Regions from separate parts of the Homo sapiens genome. Here region 2 is linked to region 1. Evidence: promoter capture Hi-C in 16 types of primary human blood cells and fetal thymus (Javierre and others, 2016). All regions are on one chromosome and are shown on one strand. Each heading gives the region's core, a stretch centred on a gene start or on the middle of the fragment in contact. The rest is flanking DNA. Distances are from core to core; before and after follow the strand shown.

Region 1 (5,161 bases), core at 1,005-3,504:
TCTCCTGACTCAGCCTCCTGAGTAGCTGGGATTACAAGTGTGCACCACCATGCCTAGCTAATTTTTGTATTTTTAGTGGAGACGGGGTTTCACTGTGTTGGTCAGGCTGGTCTTGAACTCCTGACCTCATGATCCGCCTGCCTCGGCCTCCCAAAGTGCTGGGATTCCAGGTGTGAGCCAGGCAGGAGGTTTTTATCTGACTTGTTTCAAGCTGCAAGTCTGTCTCCTGGGTGGGGTGTTTGCTTTTCACAGAGGAAGGGTGGCCCAGGTTGGGTAGGCTGGAGTAGAGGATCGGACTGCATCAGTTCTGGTGTGACCTCTTACGGTTGCCTTACTTTGTTCTCAGATAAAGCAAACGCACAAAAATTTGTTTTCTGGGCTTAACAAAACAGGAGTGACCAGTTAGGTCAGAAGACTGGAACATCAGTGAAGTGGATGTGTGGTAGGCGGAGGGGAAAGACTTGCTAGAAGCCCTCCCGCTGCGGGGGGCTCCTTCAGAAATGGCTCTGCCTCTAGCAGCTCTGCCTGGACACTGAGCAGGGAAAGGGTCCCGACACTCATTAGTAACAGTGGTAAGTCAGAGAACCAGCCCTGAGCCTGTGTCCCCAGCCCTGCCGGGGGCCAATGCCTACTGAGCACTTCCCACAGGCCAGTTCCTGGGTGATGAGTTTTACCAACATGTATTTCCCTTTTACTTTTGAGGAAAATGAAGGTGGGCTCAGTCACAGAGATAGTGCATGCTCCAAAGCCAGTGTCTTTCCTGTCTCCTCGGTTGGCCTGCCCCATCCTAGCGATGTTGTGAAGATTGGGACTACCTCTAAAGCAGCACACAGTGGCTGCTCAGTAAATGCTCAACACTGGTAGGTGCTGTGGGCCAAGGTGGAGAGAAACGGGCCATCTGGAGCAGGAAGCAGCTGACTGCAGAAGTCCTGTCTGGGCCCCCAGCAGTCTGGGTGACTGAGCAAATCTTGGAACCTCTCAGTCTATTTCCCCATATTACATAACACCTGGCTACAAAAGGGCTTTTTTCTTTTTTGAGAGGGAGTCTCGCTCTGTCGCGCAGGCTGGCATGCAATGGCACCATCTCCGCTCACTGCAACCTCCACCTCCTGGGTTCAAGCGATTCTCCTGCCTCAGCCTCCTGAGTAGCTGGGATTACAGGTGCGCGCACCACACCCGGCTATTTTTTGTATTTTTAATAGAGACGGGGTTTCACCGTGTTAGTCACGCTGGTCTCGAACTGCCGACCTCTGGTGATCCGCCCACCTCGGCCTCCCAAAGTGCTGGGATTACAGGCATGAGCCACCACACCCGGCCTACAAAAGGGGTTCTTCTGGGACCCGATCGTCTAAACTCTTCTCCATTTGACCCCCTCCATCACTACTCCACAGCTCACCGGTCTTTTCTCTGTTCCTTAGGTGCCCGTCCTGTCTCCAGGCCTTTGTACATACCATTCGTCTTGCCTTGTTTGCCCTGCCCTCACACTTGGCACATCTGGCACCTCCCCTGCACATTCTAAGACAGCATCCTTCCGTACCATTTGACCCACCCCGTTTTTTCCACCACAGTACTCATCCATATTATAACCCTTTATTCACATTTTGTCTTTTATCTCAGTCAGGAGGAAGCGAGGGCGGGGGACTCTGTGTTGTTCCCTACCGTACCCTCAGCGCACAGTCTGGTTCAGAAAATACTCGAGAGTGAATGAGAGAATGAATGAAGGAAAAAATGAGTGGAGGAGGGGTCTTTGGCCGAGCTAAAGAGCCTGGGCGCCGCGGGGGCGGGAAGCTCTAGGCAGTGCTCGTCGCGCACCGCCCCCAGAGTAAAGCGAATTTCAGAAGAGGGCGTGGGGCCCTGGGCGTGTGGGGCCCTGGGCGTGTGTGACCCGGGCCAAGTCCAAGTCCGCAGGAGGCTGCGCGGGAAGCTGCTTATAGCTACGACCCGCGGCCCCCGGCCTCTAGCCCCACCGCCGCCAGGCAAGGGCAGGGACGCCAGGTCAGTTACAGGCTCGGGTGCGGCAGCCGGCGACCAAAGGCACTGGGCGGGAGGCCGGATCCAAGGGGATACTGCTACGTAGCTGCAGCGGAACCGGCAGGCTCTGCGGCGAAACACACTGGGACTTGTAGTTCTCGGCTCCTCTAGACGCTGTCGCGAGCCCCCAGATAAAGAGGCACTTCGCGGTGACGGGGAACTACATTTCCCAGAAGGCCGGAATATGTTGGGGGTCACCGGGAAAGCGCCCCGACTGGCGGCACTTACCCGGCTCTATAGGTCCGGTTCCGGGGGCGCGTGGCTGCAGCGGGGCCCGCGTGGTGCCTCCTGAGGCGGCCCCCGGATGAAGAGATCTGGGAACCCGGGAGCCGAGGTAACGAACAGCTCGGTGGCAGGGCCTGACTGCTGCGGAGGCCTCGGCAATATTGATTTTAGACAGGTACTGACCGCACCGGACCGCCGCGGAAACTGGGAGAGGGATCTGCAAGGCCCGAGGGGCGTGAAGGCTTGCGGCGCCTCAAACGCTGCGGGGCGGGGCCGCCAGTTCCCAGGCAATGGGGGCGTGGCGTGGCGGGGGTGGGGGAGCCGCGTGCGGGAGCGCCGGCTGGTGTCTGTGTGTGTGCGTGTGCGCGCGCGTGTAAACCTCAGATTGCGTGTGTCAGAGACGGGGGCGTTCCTGAGCTCGTCTGATTGTGTGCCTGTGTGTGGCCCTGAGATTGTGTGAGACTCAGAGGTTGTCCGTGTTAGTCTTTGGGATTGTGTCTCACTGAAATTATGTGATGCTCTGAGAGTGTGCCGGAGAGTGAGTGTGAGTGTGTATGACCGAGGCTGTGTGTGACTGAGCGTGGGCGAGGGTGAAGGAGGCCGATTATATGTTTGGGAGTGTGTTGTGTGGCCCCTGCTCCCGTCCATCCCCCAGGGTCAGGAGGCCAGCTTTTGCCCAGAGGCAAGAGAGTGGTGGGGACCCTGCCTGTCTCCCAGCCGGCCCTGGGCAGGCTGCAGACCACCACCCAGCCGTTTCGGGGCCATAATGGGTGCGACCGGCCCCAGAAGCTGGGGGCCTGGCTTGCCTGCTGAGGCTGCCCTCTGCAGAGTCCTAGGCCAGAGAGTGCCTGTCCTGGCATCTCCCCAGGCTCCCAATTCCAATGGATTCCAATTTCCAACCTCTCTTGCATTCTCCCTTCTATCAAAGCTTCCTCTTAGATGCTCCATTTACCTTTTTCATCACCCACTCTTCATGAAGCCTGTAAGGCACATCTCTGCCCCAAGCAGCTTCTAATCCAGTTCTTTCGCTCCCTTCATTCCTTACTCACATGTGCATTTATTCACTCACTGATCCAGCCAGTATTGATTCAGGGCCGGCTGAGGGCCTCGTGTCACTCAGAAGTTTAAGGGCACTTCTGTCACTGAGCTTTCATTCTAGGGAGGGAGATTGTAGGCCTGGAAAGCCAGAGAGTTCTCTGAAGGAGCTAATACCAGTTAGTGTTTTGAAGAGTAGCTGATGGGAAGGCGGGATTGAAATCCCAAGAGAGCCTGTTGCCGTATCTGCGAGGGAGGGACCTGGGATCTGAGAGCCGAAAGGTCAGTCAGTGGGGCAAGATTCCCCAGAGGAGGGAGGCAGTTGCGAAGCCCTCCAGGAGGCACAGGAGGAGATGGGCCGCTGGCCCTGAGGGAGCGCAGGACCGTTGGCCAGATGGGTGCTCAGCAGAGGACAGGAAGAAGACTATTACTTTAGTAAACTGTCCATTGAATTACAACATGCAGTCAGATGAGTGATGGGTCCTACCCCTACAGCTCCTGCATTTTCACCAGGTGAACCTGTATCTGTTAATCCTCAGATCAAGATGGGGGGTCATGATCACCTCCAGGGGCTGCCCTCAGAAGCCACCGTGTAGAAGGGTGGGTGGGGGAGCCATGTAGAAGGGGGGGCAGAATGCAAGGGGGCAGTGTCCCTTTGCAGACCCATCTAGGGGCCTGCCCCAGGGCCTGCCAGTGGGCAGGGGAGACTAACCGGGTGTGTGAGGGGTGGGCTTCTCTGCTCTTTCTCCTTTCTCCCCAGGGCTGTGCAGCTGGAGAGAGCTGGGGCTGGGGTTCGGGTCAGGGTGACCCTTGTTGACTAACATTCTGCTTTTCTTCTGCTGTCCTTGTTGGTGCAGTTAAGCTTCCTGTTGCCAAGGGATTTTTCTTAAAGAAAGAAAGAAAGAAACATACAACATACAACATTACATATTTGCTTATGTGGTAGCTCTACTCCCTCCTCAATCAAAATCTCCGGTTTTAAAATATGTCAGTCCCTGGCCTGGGAGAGTTGCAAGGTTTTTGTTCACCCCATGGGCGTCTGAGCTGCAGGATCTCCGGTGCTAGCCCTGTGCTGCTGTGCTGTCCAGTAGAAACATCGTGTGCCACATGCATAATTTAAACCTTTCTAGTAGCCATGTTAAATTAGTGAGAAGAAATGGAAAATAGCAAAGAAATAGAAAAATAATTTTGACAATATATTTTATTGTTACCAAAATATATATCAGACATATTTTGTCCTGTGGCATTCCAAGCTTGTGGCACTGCCTGTGACCAGTGGCTGCCATGTCATACCAAACAGTGCTGCTCTGGGTACCATGCCCTCCACCAGCTCTTTTCTGGGCCTGCTTCAGCAGGTACAGAATCTTGCTTTTGTTTTTAAAAAAAAAAAAAAAAAAATCAGCTGTTGGGGCTGGGCACGGTGGCTCACGCCTGTAATCCCAGCACTCTGGGAGGCCAAAGCAGGTGGATCACCTGAGGTCGGGAGTTTGAGACCAGCCTGACCAACATGGAGAAATCCCATCTCTACTAAAAATATAAAAAGTTAGCCAGGCGTGGCGGCACATGCCTGTAATCCCAGCTACTCGGGAGGCTGAGGCAGGAGAATCACTTGAACCCCGTAGGTGGAGGTTGCAGTGAGCTGATATCACGCCATTGCACTCCAGCCTGGGCTAGAAGAGCGAAACTCTGTCTCAAAACAAAAACAAACAACCCAAAGAATCAGCCATTGGGCTGAGGAGTTAGGGTGAGGAGTGTGCCCGCTGCAGCCCCACTGACTAAGGCCCTTTTGCTCCTTGTTGCCCTCCCTGTCAGGATTCTGGAGCCTTGCTCCTCAGCTGGGCAGCTGCCTGAAGGCAGTGGGGTGGCAGAT
Region 2 (5,527 bases), core at 2,099-4,598, 440 kb before region 1:
GAGTAGGAGTTCAGCAAAAAGGTGGGAGAGTGTTGGGTATCTAGAACGTGTCCAGGGTGACAGCAAGGTATGAGGGACTTTTCCCTGACACTGCCTGTTTTAGAAAATCCAGAACTTCACAGGCAGTTTGGCATTGTGGCAGGAGTGCAAATCTAGGATCTGATGCTGGCTGAACCTCTGAGGTCTGTGTGATCTTGGGCATGCAACTACTTCCTCATTTTTCTCCATGCGTTGAAGTACTAGGTTGCCTTTGAGGATCTTTCTGGCTGTCAAGTTCTTTTTTTTTCTTCTTCTTCTGTTTTTTTGTGTTTTTTTGAGACGGAGTCTCCTCTGTCACAGAGGCTGGAGTGCAGTGGCACCATCTCGGCTCACTGCAACCTCCGCCTCCCAGATTCAAGCGATTTTGTGGTCTCAGCCTCCCAAGTAGGTGGGACTACAGGCGTCTGCCACCATGCCCTGCTAATTTTTGTATTTTTAGTAGAGATGGGGTTTATATTGACTAGGCTGGTCTCGAACTCCTGACTTTGTGACCCGCCCACCTCGGCCTCCCAAAGTGCTGGGATTACAGGCGTGAGCCACCGCGCCCAGCCAAGTTCTATAACTTTATAGAAATGGGGAAGGGGGCTGGATGCAGCAGGGAGCTGAAGTTTCACCTGCAGGACTCAGGGGAAGGGCCTGGAAATGGGCCATGAAGGGCCAGTAAAGAAGAGAAAGGAAGGGCATCCCAGGGAGGCATAGCAAAGGGGACACATTCAGGAGTTCACCAAGTTGGCAAAAAGCAAAGGGTTAATTAATTTATTTATTTACGTATTTATTTATTTATTTTGAGATGGAGTTTTACACTTGTCACCCAGGCTGGCATGCAATGGTGTGATCTTGGCTCACTGCAACCTCTACCTCCCAGATTCAAGCAATTCTCCTGCCTCAGCCTCCCAAGTAGCTGGGATTACAGGTGTCCGCCACCACACGTGGCTAATTTTGTATTTTTAGTAGAGATGGGGTTTCACCATGTTGGCCACACTGGTCATGAACTCCTGACCTCAGGTGATCCTCCCGCCTCAGCCTCCCAAATGCTGGGATTACAGGCGTGAGCCACCATGCCTGACCACAAAGGGTTAATTTAGATTTGTGGATGCTCACTTTACATAATGGTGGCACTTGATCTACTGCCTTCTTTTCCTTTTTAAAAAGCCTAAACTTACTAGTTAGGCTCTTGGAAGTACCTGGCACATGGTAGGTAGTCAAATGTGAAAGAAAATAGGAATGAATGAATGAGAAGGGAGGTGCATAAATCAGGCCCATGCATGCTTTTTTTTTTTTTTGAGACAGAGTCTTGCACTGTCACCCAGGCTGGAGTGCAGTGGCGCAATCTTGGCTCACTGTAAGCTCCGCCTCCCGGGTTCACGCCATTCTCCTGCCTCAGCGTCCCGAGTAGCTGGGACTACAGGTGCCCACCACCACACCTGGCTAATTTTTTTGTATTGTCAGTAGAGACGGAGTTTCACCATGTTAGTCTGGATGGTCTCGATCTCCTGACCTCATGATCCACCCTCCTCAGCCTTCCAGAGTGCTGGGATTACAGGCATGAGCCACCGCGCCCGGCCCCCGACCCCCACGTGTTCTCTCTAAAGACCTTACCAGTTGTGAGATATTTGTGCGTATTTGAAGTAGTAGAAGATTAAACCGCAGTGGGTTCTTCTCAATGAACACTTCAGTCAGCAAGCTGATTGAACTTGGCCACTTAGGAATGGCCATGCCATTGAAGGTTATCAGAAGGAGAGGAGGAGTTTACGAAAGGGTCACTGAGGTGTTGGAGAAGGAGATATTGCAACAAGAAGACCTATATGAGGTTGTTGTGGCAGTTTAGTTCTGCACCAGCTTATCAGAGGTCTATTGACTCCCAGAGTGGCAGGTGTTCTGGAGAAACCTATCTATTCAGCGTATCTGGCTGAATGCAACTGCCTGATGAAGTCAAGGCTAGAAGTCTTGTCTCTGCTATTTACCAGTTGTCTGTCACCAAGACAAGATGTTTAGCTTCTCTATCACCTCCGAGGCATTAGCTGCCTTGTCATCCTCATAGAATAGTGGTGTGGATTGAGGGAGATTATGTAGTCTGTAGATCAGGGTCCAGCCTGCCACCTGTTTTTGTAAATAGAGTTTTATTGGAACACAGCCACATGCATTCATTTACATATCATCTATGGCTACTTTCACTACAGTGGCAGAGTTGAATAGTTGGAACAGATATTGTATGGCTTGCAAAGCTTAGAATATTTACTATCTGATTCTTTGCAGAAAAAGTTTGCTAAATGTTATACATTTGGCCTGAAGGATTTTTTTAACAGCTTTATTGAGATATTTACTTGCTATACAATTCATTTACTTGAAGTGTAAATATAATAGTTTTTAGTATATTTACAGAATTGTACAGCCATTGCCACAATCAATTTTAGAACATTTTTATCACCCTTAAAAGAAACCTGCACCCTTTAGCTATCATCCACCCTTACTACTTCCATCCCTTGGCAACTACTACTTTCCTTTGTTCTTTTATAGATTTCCCTGTTTGGGACATTTTATATAAATAGAATGTGGTCTTTTTTGACTGACTTTTTCACTTAGCATAATGTTTTAAAGTTTGGGTTTTTTTTGTTTTTTTTTGTTTTTAAGAGATTGGGTCTCATTCTGTTGCCCAGGCTGGAGTGTAGTGGCACGATCACAGCTCACTGTAACCTCAAACTCCTGGGCTCAAGTGATCCTCCTGCCTCAGCCTCCCAAGTAGCTAGGGCTACAGGCACACACCACCATGCCCGGCTAGCTTTTTAGTGCTTTGTAGAGATGGGGTCTTGCTCAGGCTGACCTCAAACTCCTGGCCTCAAGTGATCCTCCTGCTTCGGCCTTCCAGAGTGCTGGGATTACAGGAGTGAGCCACCATGACCAAACGTTTTTAAGTTTTATCCACCTTGTATCATGTATCAATGACTCCATTCTTCTTTATTGCCAAACAATATTCCATTGTATGTGTAAATATGCCACATTTTACTTATCCATTCATCCATTGGTGGACACAGGGTCGTTTCTACCTTTTGGCTAATATGAATAACGCTACTATGAACATTCATGTACAAGTTTTTGTGTGGACATATGTTTTCATTTCTCTTGGACATATACCTAAGAGTAGAATTACTGGGTCAAATGGTAACTCTGTTTAACTTTTGGAGGATCTGCCAGACTGTTTTTCAAGGTGGCTGTGCCATTTCACATTTCCACCAGCAGTGTTTGAGGGGTCCAGTTTCTCTATATCTCAACACTTGTTGTTGTCTTTTTTATTACAGCTGTCCTAAAGGGTTTGAAGTGGTATCTCATTGTGGTTTTGATTTGCATTTCTCTGATGAATTATGTTGAGTATCTTTTCACGTGCTTAATGGCTATTTGTATATTTTCTTTGAAGAAACGTCTATTCAGATCCCTTGACCATTGTTTTTTTTTAAAGAGAGGGGGTCTTGCTCTGTCACCCAGGTTGTAGTGCAAGTGGCTCAGTTACAGCTTACTGCAGCCTCAACCTCCTGGGCTCAAGCGAGCCTCACACCTCAGCCTCCAAAGTAGCTGGGAACTACAGGTGTGTGCCACCATGCCCAGCTGACTTTAAAATTTTTTTGTACAGACAGGGTCTTGCTATGTTGCCCAGGCTGGTCTCAAACTCCTGGACTCAAGCAATCTTCCCACCTCGGTCTCTCAGACTTGAACATTTTTAAATTGGGTTATTTGTTGTTGTTTTTGAGACAGGGCCTCGGTCTGTTGCCTAGGCTAGAGTGCAGGGGTGTGTTCATGGCTCACTGCAGCCTCAACCTCCCAGGCTCAGGTGATCCTCCCATGTCAGCCTCCTGAGTAGCTGGGACTACAGGCACGTGCCACCATGCCTGGCTAATTTTTGTATTTTTGTAGAGACAGGGTGTTGCCATGTTGCTCAGGCTGGTCTTGAACTCTTGGACTCAAGTGATCCACCTGCCTCAGCCAGCCAAAGTGCTGGGATTACAAGCTCGAGCCACCATGCCCAGCCTATTTGTCTTTTTGTTATTGAGTCGTAAGAGTTCTTTATGTATTTGGGCTGAAGAATTTTGATACCTGAAAAGAGTTGGTTAGAGCCGCCCTAGGATTACAGATGGCCCTGGAGTTAGAATTTCACCTTTAAGGTTTAAGGCCCACCAGATGGCACTGTTTTAAAAGATAAAGGCACTGAGACAGCTCTGAAACCAGTACTTCCTCTTCTTGGTGCACTGTGGGAGTTGTGGTTCCTGAGGCTGGTAATCTTTCTAAAGGAAAGGCCAGTTCTGCATGATCCTACAAAGCTAGGCTGATTTTTTTCATCTTTAAAGACAGGGTTACCATTGATGTCTGCTAACCATGTATTCACCGAGAACATGGAAGCTTCATAGGTTTCTGGTGGTCTCACATTTTGTCTTATGTGACATTGTTGGGGAACATGGATCCCCCAAACGAATTGTCCAGATCATGTTCTTTTTTTTTTTTTTTTTTGAGACAGAGTCTCATTCTGTCACCCTGGTTGGGGTGCAGTGGCGCAATCTTGGTTCACTACAACCTCCGCCTCCTGGGTTCAACTGATTTTCAGCCTCCTGAGTAGCTGGTATTACAGGCAGGCAATACCACACCTCGCCAATTTTTTAATTTTTTGTAGAGACAGGGTTTCACCATGTTGGCCAGGCTGCTCTTGAGCTCCTGGCTTTAAGTGATCTGTCCCCCTCGGCCTCACAAAGTTCTGGGATTACAGGCATGAGCCACCATGCCCGGCCCCAGATCAAGTTCCTGTATGCCTGTGTGGAGCCTTTACTTGGCTCCCTTTGCTGTCTTTGCAGTGATCTACATGTCCCCCATATGTGGCCCCATTGCCCTCTCTAGCATCTTAGAGAATCTTGCATTCTCCTTCTGACCATCTGTCTAGTCCACAACTGCTCTCTAGAAACCCTGGTCCTTCATGCAACCTGTTTCTTCATCTGGAAACTACTTCCACAGCCCTGCTCTGCCAAAAAAAAAAAAAAAAAATTGAATCAATCAGAAAGTTTGGTACCTCCTGCCTCACCTTCAAGTTGCAATTTAATTCTGACTAATCGTTCCACGTGCCTGCCCCATCACAGAAGTCACCTTATTGTTTGCCTGGTTTAGTGTCTGTATTCCTACTAGACAGTAAATGGCTGGAGAGTGCAGAGATGAGCTTTGCACATGTCCCATCCCCAGGACTTGTATGTCCTGGAACATGATCAGTACTCACCAAAGCTTGTTCCAAGACACGTTTGCCCCTCCAAGTGTCAGTGGGTCATTCAGGAGAGCCCCTGGCTAAAACACATCTATGTGCACCTGCCTTCTAATCTGAGGCCTGGCGGCCCCTGGGCTTCTTTTGCCCTTCTGCCGTCTCATTTTCTGCATGGTTTTCTTCTGCTTGGAGAAATTTTTGGTGGCTTCTTCCCTGCCCTCCATCTATCCCACTCCCATCTAGTTTTTTCTTATTCAG

Evidence for each region. The method cuts DNA at HindIII sites, captures the fragments that hold promoters and counts their contacts. A CHiCAGO score of 5 or more calls a contact.
Region 2: a fragment that was not itself captured here is called in contact with the fragment with the promoter of PEMT in region 1 in 3 of 17 cell types (naive CD4 T cells, non-activated CD4 T cells and total B cells); the score reaches 6.2 in naive CD4 T cells.

Annotation. Positions count from the first base shown.
Region 1 is chr17:17,588,801-17,593,961 of GRCh38, reverse strand. It overlaps PEMT (phosphatidylethanolamine N-methyltransferase), which reads left to right and starts at 2,254. Exons shown (of 7, transcript NM_148172.3): 1 at 2,254-2,431. The coding sequence starts at 2,336. RefSeq lists enhancers at 2,113-2,502, 2,068-2,809. The HindIII fragment of the contact is 3,820 bases long and covers 1-3,186 here.
Region 2 is chr17:18,032,371-18,037,897 of GRCh38, reverse strand. The region is part of intron 1 of ATPAF2 (ATP synthase mitochondrial F1 complex assembly factor 2); the gene reads left to right. Among named protein-coding and RNA genes, the nearest start is that of ATPAF2, 4.0 kb to the left of the region's middle. The HindIII fragment of the contact is 2,164 bases long and covers 2,267-4,430 here.